Linked DNA regions of Homo sapiens: region 1 is linked to region 2. Evidence: promoter capture Hi-C in 16 types of primary human blood cells and fetal thymus (Javierre and others, 2016). All regions are on one chromosome and are shown on one strand. The core of a region is centred on a gene start or on the middle of the fragment in contact, and the rest is flanking DNA. Distances in the headings are between cores, read along the strand shown. Region 1 overlaps STAG3 (STAG3 cohesin complex component). Region 2 holds the start of GAL3ST4 (galactose-3-O-sulfotransferase 4).

Region 1 (4,675 bases), core at 1,981-4,480, 34 kb before region 2:
TCTCAGCTCACGGCAACCTCCGCCTCCCGGGTTCAAGTGATTCTCCTGCCTCAGCCTCCTGAGTAGTTGGGATTACAGATGCGCGCCACCATGCCCAGCTAATTTTTGTATTTTTAGTAGAGACGGGGTTTCACCATCTTGGCCAGGCTGGTCTCGAACACCTGACCTCGTGAGCCGCCTGCCTCGGCCTCCCAAAGTGCTGGGATTGCAGGCATGAGCCACCACACCTGGCCCTCTATTTGATTTTTAATACAGGTTTTCAGTTGACTAGATAAACCTTGAAAGAAATTAATACCCTGAATGACAGTAGATGCTCAATGAAATACTTGACAAAATAAGTTTGCAGGCAGCCAACGACCACCTGCTGGGCACCCCCATACCCACACACAGCACCCTACCTTCAACGCGCCTCCTCTTGGAGCTGGGGAGGACCTGAGGGCTGGTCTCTGCTGTGTTCTCCACAGGGCTGAGGGAGTGGCAGTAGGTGGTGACTGGGCCCCAGGGATGGCCAGGTGCCTGGGAGACATGCTGCAGGCACTTTTCTAGATAGGACAGTCTATGAAAGAGGTAGAACCAAAAGCCTGAAGGGGCTACTGGGCCCTCAGCAGGCCCTTCCCTAATCCACATCTCTATCCACCCACCAACTTACAAAAGCTGCTTGTCCTGATGGAAGAGTCGGGGGGAAAACTCTGAAAGGAGCTCCAGGAATGCCAGATTTGGAGGCTGATTGGAGGAGCCAGCTGGAGGAAGCTCAGACAAGGAGAACTGGATGCCTTCCCTTGGTTGGGCAGAATTATTTTAGGAAGAAAGTCTCTTCCCACTTCCCTCCCAGGCCTGAGCTATCCTGTCCAAATGCACCCTCCCCCCGTCCCCAGCTTGTCTCCAAAGGCATACCCACCCCTAACCTGACTGCTATGCCTTGACACACATACCCTCCCTCCGAGACCTCCCTCCAAGACCTCGTTCCCAGCCCTCCCTGGACACAACCTGCAACCAATACTTCCTACTTGTGTAGCATGACCACGAGGTCACGGTTCTGCAGCTGCTGGGGTCCAAAACTCAAGGCAAACCTCCGGGCCAGGTCCCTCATCTCGATGAAGGCAGGAAGCTCATTCAGGCCCTGGGGCCCATGCTCCTGCAGCAGTTCTGTGTACAGCTGTGTCCAGGAGACATGGTGCATGTGGGAAAGGGAGGAACACGGCGGAAACAGAGAAGTCCAGCATTCTCTTCTCTACTCAGAAATTCCAAAGGCCTTGGGACACCATCTACTACTTTTACTCTTTCCTTCCTTCTAGGGAACTCCCGATACCCCTGCAGCAAACAAAGCCAATCACCTCTACTCCATAACATTAAATAAAAACGTCTATAGTAACTGAAGGAGGCTGAGAGAGAACAGACTGAAAAATAATTAGGAACTCCCTATCACTTCCTTGTTGGCGTTCCAATGTCCTGATAAGTTACTTTTGATGGGGTTGCCCAGTCAGTTAAAAAAAAAATACTTCCCAAGGGTCTACTAAGAATGAAGGAACCTATCACGTAAAGTTAAGAGTCAAAACAAGAAAAGTTACTGCTCTGAAGGATCTTACATTCTGAGTGGCTGAGGGTAGACAGAGACTTGGGGACAACAGGGCTGGCATGTCCTCAAGGCAGAAGGGCGCACCTGCTTGAGGCTCAGCAGCAGGATTCGGGAACAATGACTTCGGTCAATCTGCCTTGCTCTAGTTAATGTTTCCTTGATAATGTCACCATAGTCATTGTAGAACTGAGGGGAAAGAGTGGGGAAGGTAATGTCTGACTGGTGGAAAAGACCATTTGGTTTCTTCCTTCACATCCCTAATCATGTCTCCCTCCCAAACTCCCTTAGGTAGGAAACATGAACTGAAGCATAAAATAATTCAGACTAGACTTCATCTCTAATCAACAGGTGCAAAGCCCAAAATAAATCAGAGTTTCGGTAAACAAATAATAAGGCCGGGTGCAGTGGCTCACACCTGTAATCCCAGCACTTTGGGAGGCCAAGACGGGTGGATCACGAGGTCAGGAGATCGAGACCATCCTGGCTAATACGGTGAAACCCCGTCTCTACTAAAAATACAAAAAATTAGCCGGGCGTGGTGGTGGGTGCCTGTAGTCCCAGCTACTCGGGAGGCTGAGGCAGGAGAATGGCGTGAACCCAGGAGCCGGACCTTGTAGTGAGCCGAGATCACGCCACTGCACTCCAGCCTGGGCGACAGAGCGAGATTCCGTCTCAAAAAATAAATAAATAAATAAATAAATAAAATAAAAAACAAATAATGAAACAGGCCAGGCATGGTGGCTCACGCCTATAATCCCAGCAGTTTGGGAGGCCAAGTTGGGCGGATCACAAGGTCAGGAGATCAAGACCATCCTGGCGATGGTGAAACCCTGTCTTTACTAAAACTATAAAAATTAGCTGGGCGTGGCAGCGCATGCCTGTAATCCCAGCTACTTGGGAGGCTGAGGCAGGAGAACTGCTTGAACCCCGGGAGGCAGAGGTTGCAGTGAGCCGAGATAGTGCCATTGCATTCTAGCCTGGCGACAGAGCTAGAATCTGTCTCAGGAAAAAAAAAAAAAAAGAAAAGAAAAGAAATAAACACTGCCCCAAGCCCAATTCTTGGAGAAGAGAAGTAAGCCTGACAGTGCCCTCTCACACAGCACTGACACCTTCACTATTTGTCTCTCCCCAACTACAATGGAAGCTCCACCAAATAGGAACTTGTGTGTTTTGTTCACTGCTGTGGCCTTAGCTCCTGGAATGGTGCTTGGCACACAGCAGGTGCTCAATAAGCATAAATCAATACTGGTGGGTTGAGGAAACTGGGGCACCTATCTAGGTATCCTGTGAGGACTGATCCCTCTTTTATTCTTTTTTCCTTCTTATGTTACCCCATTCCATAGACTGGGGTCAGAGAAAAATAAATATTTCTGGACAGGAAGAATAAGCTATTTCCCCTCCAGTGAATTTCTTCACAGCTTTTTCTCCATAATTATTTACTATTAAGTCTCTTTTCTTTGTCCCCTTATTCTGAACTCCCAGTGCCTTTCCCTCCTACTTCTCCTTTAAGCTTGAAACCATTGGATATCCCCCACCTGTAGTGCTATTATGTTTCCAAGTCATGGCTGTGCTCAACTTGCTCCCTTCTCTTTTATTTCTGTAGGGCCTTGGTGTACCTTGTTGTAGTGTTTGAAAACATCTGAGGCTGCATCCATCTCCAGCACCCCATAAAGCAACAGCTTGCAGAACCCGGCTAGGAGGCGGCGCCGCTGGTGTAGCCGCTCTATCTGTAAATGATCCTCCTGGGAATCACCTGGCTCACATGGAAGGCAAAAGGGAATCACAGACTTAAGCTTCCTGCCCTATATTTCTGAGCTACACCCAAGCCCCAGCCCTTACTGAGCCCCAGGTATAGAGTCACTGCACCACTGCCCAGGTCTCCCGGCTGGATGAAGACGTGGTCCATGAGGAAGCTGGCTAGCTCAGACTGGAGAGTAGCTTCAGGAAAAAAGACAAGTGGCCTAAGGAAATCACGGCCCCCAACAATCATCTGAGGGCTAAAGATGAGAAGTAGATCACTTAATAAGACAAAAGCCTGTAGGGGGAAAAGAAAGGATGTTTAAAAGGACAGAATGTTTCCCAAGGTAGAAATGACACTGTCAATTTCTCCTTGGAATGGGGGCAGGGATACTCGCCTTGTTGCTCCCACTTGAGTCAGTACTCACCTGCTCCTGGATCTCAGTATCCACATCTGAGAGGCAACTCTGGCAGAGTTCACAGAAGGCCACCATTCTGTCCCTCAAACTCGACAGCTGCTTCTGTGGGCACAGTGGCTTGAAGGGGAAGAATGAAGACACAGACTCCTCTGTTCCCATTATCCCATCTAAGACCCACACTCACCTGGGAAGCATCTGATTTAGAAATGTGGGTTAGTGTCCAGAGAATGGAAAAATAGACAAGAGTCAAGGCTGGCAGGATAACCTGTAACAACAAAGGGTTTGAAAAATGAGGTTTGGGTTAGGAGAGGGAGAGACAGATAGCCAGAAACACACCAGTGAAGAGGAGAGAAAATGAGTAAAGGGAGAGCTAATTCCTTTTCCAGTGGAAAATGAGTGATATTCTGGACATTCTTCAGAGGCATCTACACGAAGTAGAAATGTCACCGCTCCCTAATTTACTCTACGTCTTCTAGAATCCCTCAATATTATCCTTGGCTTCCAGGAAATCCAAGAAGACCCTGGAAGTAGAGTCCACCTTCTAAGAGAGGAATGTAAGAGGTGACCCCCACCCACCTGATCTTCCTCGCTTTGTCCACTCCACGCACTGAGACTTGACACACCTAGTGGCCACCTAGAACGTAGGTCCTTAAAATCTAGCCCCCCAGCCCCCAACCCATCTCTAGCCTGTCCACTCACCTGGTGAGGAACCTCTCCTGTGTCCACAGCCTTCTGCAGGAGTTGGCAACATGGCTCATAGAGCTCCCAGCGAGTCAGGTCATGAGTGCTTTGGGGGAGAAAGGGGAATGTTATACTGGAAAAGAACAGAGGGAACCAACTCCACAGACACCAGTAAAAACGGGATGGGGAAGAGGAGGAAAGCCACTCACTTGTAGAAGGCAGAGAGGCGTTTCAGAGTGGCTGCCAGATTATATACCTCATC
Region 2 (4,409 bases), core at 702-3,201:
TGTTTTTATCTCAATTTCTTTTCCTCCCTCTGTCTCCCTCTGCTTCTCCCTCCCATCCTGCTCTGTCCCTCTTCTTCCTTGCAGATGAGGATGCCAGCGGCTCTGGAGGGGGACAGCAGTATGCAGATGACTGGATGGCTGGGGCTGTGGCTCCCCCAGCCCGGCCTCCTCGGCCTCCATACCCTCCTAGAAGGGATGGTTCTGGGGGCAAAGGAGGAGGTGGCAGTGCCCGCTACAACCAGGGCCGGAGCAGGAGTGGGGGGGCATCTATTGGTTTTCACACCCAAACCATCCTCATTCTCTCCCTCTCAGCCCTGGCCCTGCTTGGACCTCGATAACGGGGGAGGGGTGCCCTAGCATCAGAAGGGTTCATGGCCCTTTCCCCTCCTCCCCCCTCAGCTGGGCCTGGGGAGGAGTCGAAGGGGGCTGCAGAGAGGGTAGAGAAGGGACTTTGCAGGTGAATGGCTGGGGCCCCAAATCCAGGAGATTTTCATCAGAGGTGGGTGGGTGTTCACAATATTTATTTTTTCATTTGGTAATGGGAGGGGGGCCTGGGGGTATTTATTTAGGAGGGAGTGTGGTTTCCTTAGAAGGTATAGTCTCTAGCCCTCTAAGGCTGGGGCTGGTGATCAGCCCCAACAGAGAAAATGAGGAGTTTAGAGTTGCAGCTGGGGAAGGGGTTTGAAGGAAGTTGGAAGTGGGGAGGGGTGGGGGCATCTGGTCTCAGAAATGGACCAGCTGGATGCAGGGCAGGGGACTGAGGGTGCTTGAGTAGGATGTGAGACTTCATGGGCCTGGGTTCTGTTGAGTTTTTTCAGTATCAATTTCTTAAACCAAATTTTAAAAAAAACAAGGTGGGGGGGTGCTCATCTCGTGACCTCTGCCACCCACATCCTTCACAAACTCCATGTTTCAGTGTTTGAGTCCATGTTTATTCTGCAAATAAATGGTAATGTATTGGACCCCATGTGTGGCTTCTGTGCTGTCACCATCAGTGCCTGAGCCCTGGCTCCTAGCAGAGGTCTCAGAGCCTCTGTGACTGGCTCATTTTCTGCCGGCTTTTCACTTCCCTTGGCACCTGTCCCCCAGGAGGCGGGCCTAGACAATAACCTCTGATCTCCAAATTGCCCACCCTCTGGGCCTCTGAGCATCTTCGTTTGTACAACAGGGAGAATTGTGGGGACCAAATAGAATCTGTGTGAAAAAGCACCTTGTCACCTGCAAAATGCTCTTTGAACATGAGGCTTTTTTTTTTTTTTTTTTGAGATAGAGTCTCGCTGTTGTCGCGAGGCTGGAGTGCAATGGCGCGATCTCAGTTCACTGCAACCTCCGCCTCCCCAGTTCAAATGATTCTCCTGCCTCAGCCTCCTGAGTAGCTGGGATTACAGGCGCCTGCCACCACAGTCAGCTAATTTTTGTATTTTTAGTAGAGACGGGGTTTCACCATGTTGGCCAGGCTGATCGCAAACTCCTGACCTCAAGCGATCCACCAGCCTTAGCCTCCCAAAGTGCTGGGATTACAGGCGTGAGCCACCGCACCCGGCCACGAAGCATTATTAAGGTGACCACACCACTGCCCCCTGCCTTCAGGATGGGAGGCCTTGTTCTCTGAGTGTCAGTCTCTGGCTACCTTGCCACGTCCTTGACAATGTCTGCTTTCAAATATCACTTTCTCCTTCCTTCCTTCTTTCTTTCCACCGCCTGAATGAATCTTTTGTTCTGCGGCAAGCCAAGAGAAAATGGTAGGATTGATTCCCAAGTGTGAAAGCGGGGGCGGAAGTGGTGTCTTCCAAGAGGAGTCTGGGTGCCCTGCCGAAGAGGGGAAGATGCAGCGAGGGAGAGACCTAGAACCGCGATCAAAGCTGCAGCAGCTGCTGGGGCTGGCGGCACAAAGGGAGGAGGGAGGAGCCTGGGCGCTGAGAAAGTTCTTGGGGAAAGTTGAGCTGAGCCAAGAGTCGGGCGGTGGCTGGGATGGGCGGGAGGGCCCGGCCCGATTTCCCTTGCTGCTCCCCTTGTGGCCTGGTGAGTGGGAAGTGAAACCAAGGATAGGACCAGTGGAGGGACCCTCTAATTTATGGGAGGAGACATGAGGGGTTCATGGAACCCCAGCGGGGGCAACTGGGCAGTCACCAAAGCTGGAGGGGACAGAGGGCTGGGATCTCCAATCATGGGAAGGGAGAGATGGATGGAAGGAAATGAAGAACTCTGGATAGGGGAGACGCGGCTAGACCCCAGGGGCTGTGATCAGGGAGGGAATTGGGGAGTGATGCCAGAGAGGGCAGGTCTCCGGGAGTAAAAGTGTGGCTTCTCTCTGCTTGGGGTTACCCCTGGCTCATCGGAGCAGGGAGCTGTCGGGGCTTGTTGGAGGGGCCGTGGTCCCTGATCGCGAGTTGTAATCTGAAGGGGCGGGGCTGGACTCCCGGTTGATTAGGAAGCTCGGGCTTCAGAAGGAACTCTGCAGTTAGTGTTTGCGCCTTTCTCCTTATCTTTGTGTCATAGTCTCTCTGTCCCTCTGTCTCTCTCTCTCTGTTTCTCTGTGTGTGTGTGTGTGTGTGTGTGTGTCTCTCTCTCTTTCTGTCTCCCTCTCCAGCCCCACCCTTTCAGTCTCCTCCGGGTGCACTGATAAGGTTGGAAAGTGGAATGGTGGGTAAGTCCAGGGATCTGGGCTTTATAAGTAGCCACACGTCTCCCCCAGCCCCTGTCATACATGGGGGTCTGCCCCGTGCTGAGACAGAGAAAAAAGAGGCGCGGGAATTTATAACCCAATGGCTCTTACCCATTGCAATGCCACTCCTGGAAGTCCAACCTCCCTTCCTCCTGCCTGGGTTCATACACCTGTGTCCTGTCTGATCCTCATTCCCACTGTATGGCTTCCCTTCCTGGTCCTGGGATAGGGCTCTTTATCCCCATCTGTGACAGCCAGAGGGGCTCTGGAGGAAACCAGGTTCCCGACCATGGTCTGACCTGACTGTGTTAATGAGCTGATTGATCTGATCTCTCTCTCTCTTGCTGGCTGTTTCATTCACGAGCTGGGGCTTTTTCTCTCCTTCCCTTATAAATCCCCAAGGCTCAGGGACAACTGTAGGTGGGGAGCGGGAGGAACTGGAGATAAGAAAGTGATAGAGCAGAGACAGTAGTTGTGGGGCCACCTAGGAGAGTCTGGGTATAGACAACATCCCCAGCCACTCCCCTTCCCTGAAGGAGGTCTCAGCTGCAGCAGGAGAGAAGGCTGCCTCTGCCTCTCTCCTTAGACTTCCCTTCTTCCCCCCTCATTTCCCTTCTAGACGCTGACAGAGGCAAAAATCTGCTAACTCAGGGGGCAGACTCAACCAAGACTGTGAGCAGGCCTGGGGAATGACCCCCCGATCTCCAACCAGTGCCTTCCGCAGCTGCACGGCTGTCTCCAGCTGTCTCTGCCCCTCTTCCTGGCCCTGGCTCCATCTCTCTGTCACCTCACCCTTCCCTGTGCCACATGGGCCCTCTCTCTCCTGCCAGGACGCTGCGGCTCTGGGGACCTCGGAGCCTGGGGGTGGCTCTGGGAGTCTTCATGACCATTGGCTTTGCACTCCAGCTCTTGGGAGGGCCCTTCCAGAGGAGGTGAGTTCCCACTTTGCCCCAACTCCTTCTAGACGCCCCGTACTTGCTCTTCCCCATCCCACCTGGGGCTGGTGACTCCTGAGGACTCAGAAGCCTCCATGCCCTCTGTCCCTTCTACCCATTTGCTGCTGAGGAACAGGACACTCCCCCTCCATCTCTTCCCAGGCTACCTGGGCTACAGCTCCGACAGCCCTCGGCCCCATCCCTACGACCAGCCCTTCCGTCCTGCCCACCCCGGCAGCGACTGGTGTTCCTGAAGACACATAAATCCGGGAGCAGCTCTGTGCTGAGCCTGCTTCACCGCTATGGGGACCAGCACGGGCTGCGCTTCGCCCTCCCTGCCCGCTACCAGTTTGGCTACCCAAAGCTCTTCCAGGCCTCTAGGGTAAAAGGCTACCGCCCACAGGGTGGAGGCACCCAGCTCCCCTTCCACATCCTCTGTCACCACATGAGGTTCAACCTGAAAGAGGTAAGGAGTGTCGCAGTGGTGGGAGGGACCAGAAACAGATGGGCTCAGGCTGACACCACCAAGGGAGGGGGCCCAGACCTGGGGGCTCCCCAGGCATCATCTCACCCTAAAGTTGGACATAGGGGCCACAAAGTTGGGCTCCCTGCCATCCTCTCTACAGGTGTCCCTTCCCCAGTAGTTTCTGGGAGCCCAAGTCCTCCTCCCTTCTCTCTCTGGCGCTTACTCCAGTCTCTCTCTTTCACCAATGTATTTCCCTGGCATCAGTGCCTTGCCAACTCTGAGCCCCCAACTCTCCCTCCAGGTGCCCCTTACTCTTCTGTTTTTAAATTATTTTTTGGAAGAC

The links. The method cuts DNA at HindIII sites, captures the fragments that hold promoters and counts their contacts. A CHiCAGO score of 5 or more calls a contact.
Region 1: a fragment that was not itself captured here is called in contact with the fragment with the promoter of GAL3ST4 in region 2 in 8 of 17 cell types (total B cells, naive CD4 T cells, non-activated CD4 T cells and 5 more); the score reaches 7.3 in total B cells.

What each region holds. Positions count from the first base shown.
Region 1 is chr7:100,201,108-100,205,782 of GRCh38, reverse strand. STAG3 (STAG3 cohesin complex component) reads right to left here. Exons shown (of 34, transcript NM_001282717.2): 20 at 4,623-4,675; 21 at 4,432-4,519; 22 at 3,917-3,997; 23 at 3,742-3,834; 24 at 3,443-3,611; 25 at 3,193-3,329; 26 at 1,661-1,762; 27 at 1,008-1,156; 28 at 650-778; 29 at 399-556. It also overlaps the pseudogene CASTOR3P. Among named protein-coding and RNA genes, the nearest start is that of PVRIG, 17 kb to the left of the region's middle. The HindIII fragment of the contact is 283 bases long and covers 3,089-3,371 here.
Region 2 is chr7:100,166,159-100,170,567 of GRCh38, reverse strand. It overlaps GAL3ST4 (galactose-3-O-sulfotransferase 4), which reads left to right and starts at 1,951. Exons shown (of 4, transcript NM_024637.5): 1 at 1,951-2,022; 2 at 3,285-3,597; 3 at 3,763-4,066. The coding sequence starts at 3,473. GPC2 (glypican 2) reads left to right here. Exons shown (of 10, transcript NM_152742.3): 10 at 85-962. The coding sequence ends at 338. The HindIII fragment of the contact is 24,826 bases long and covers 1-4,409 here.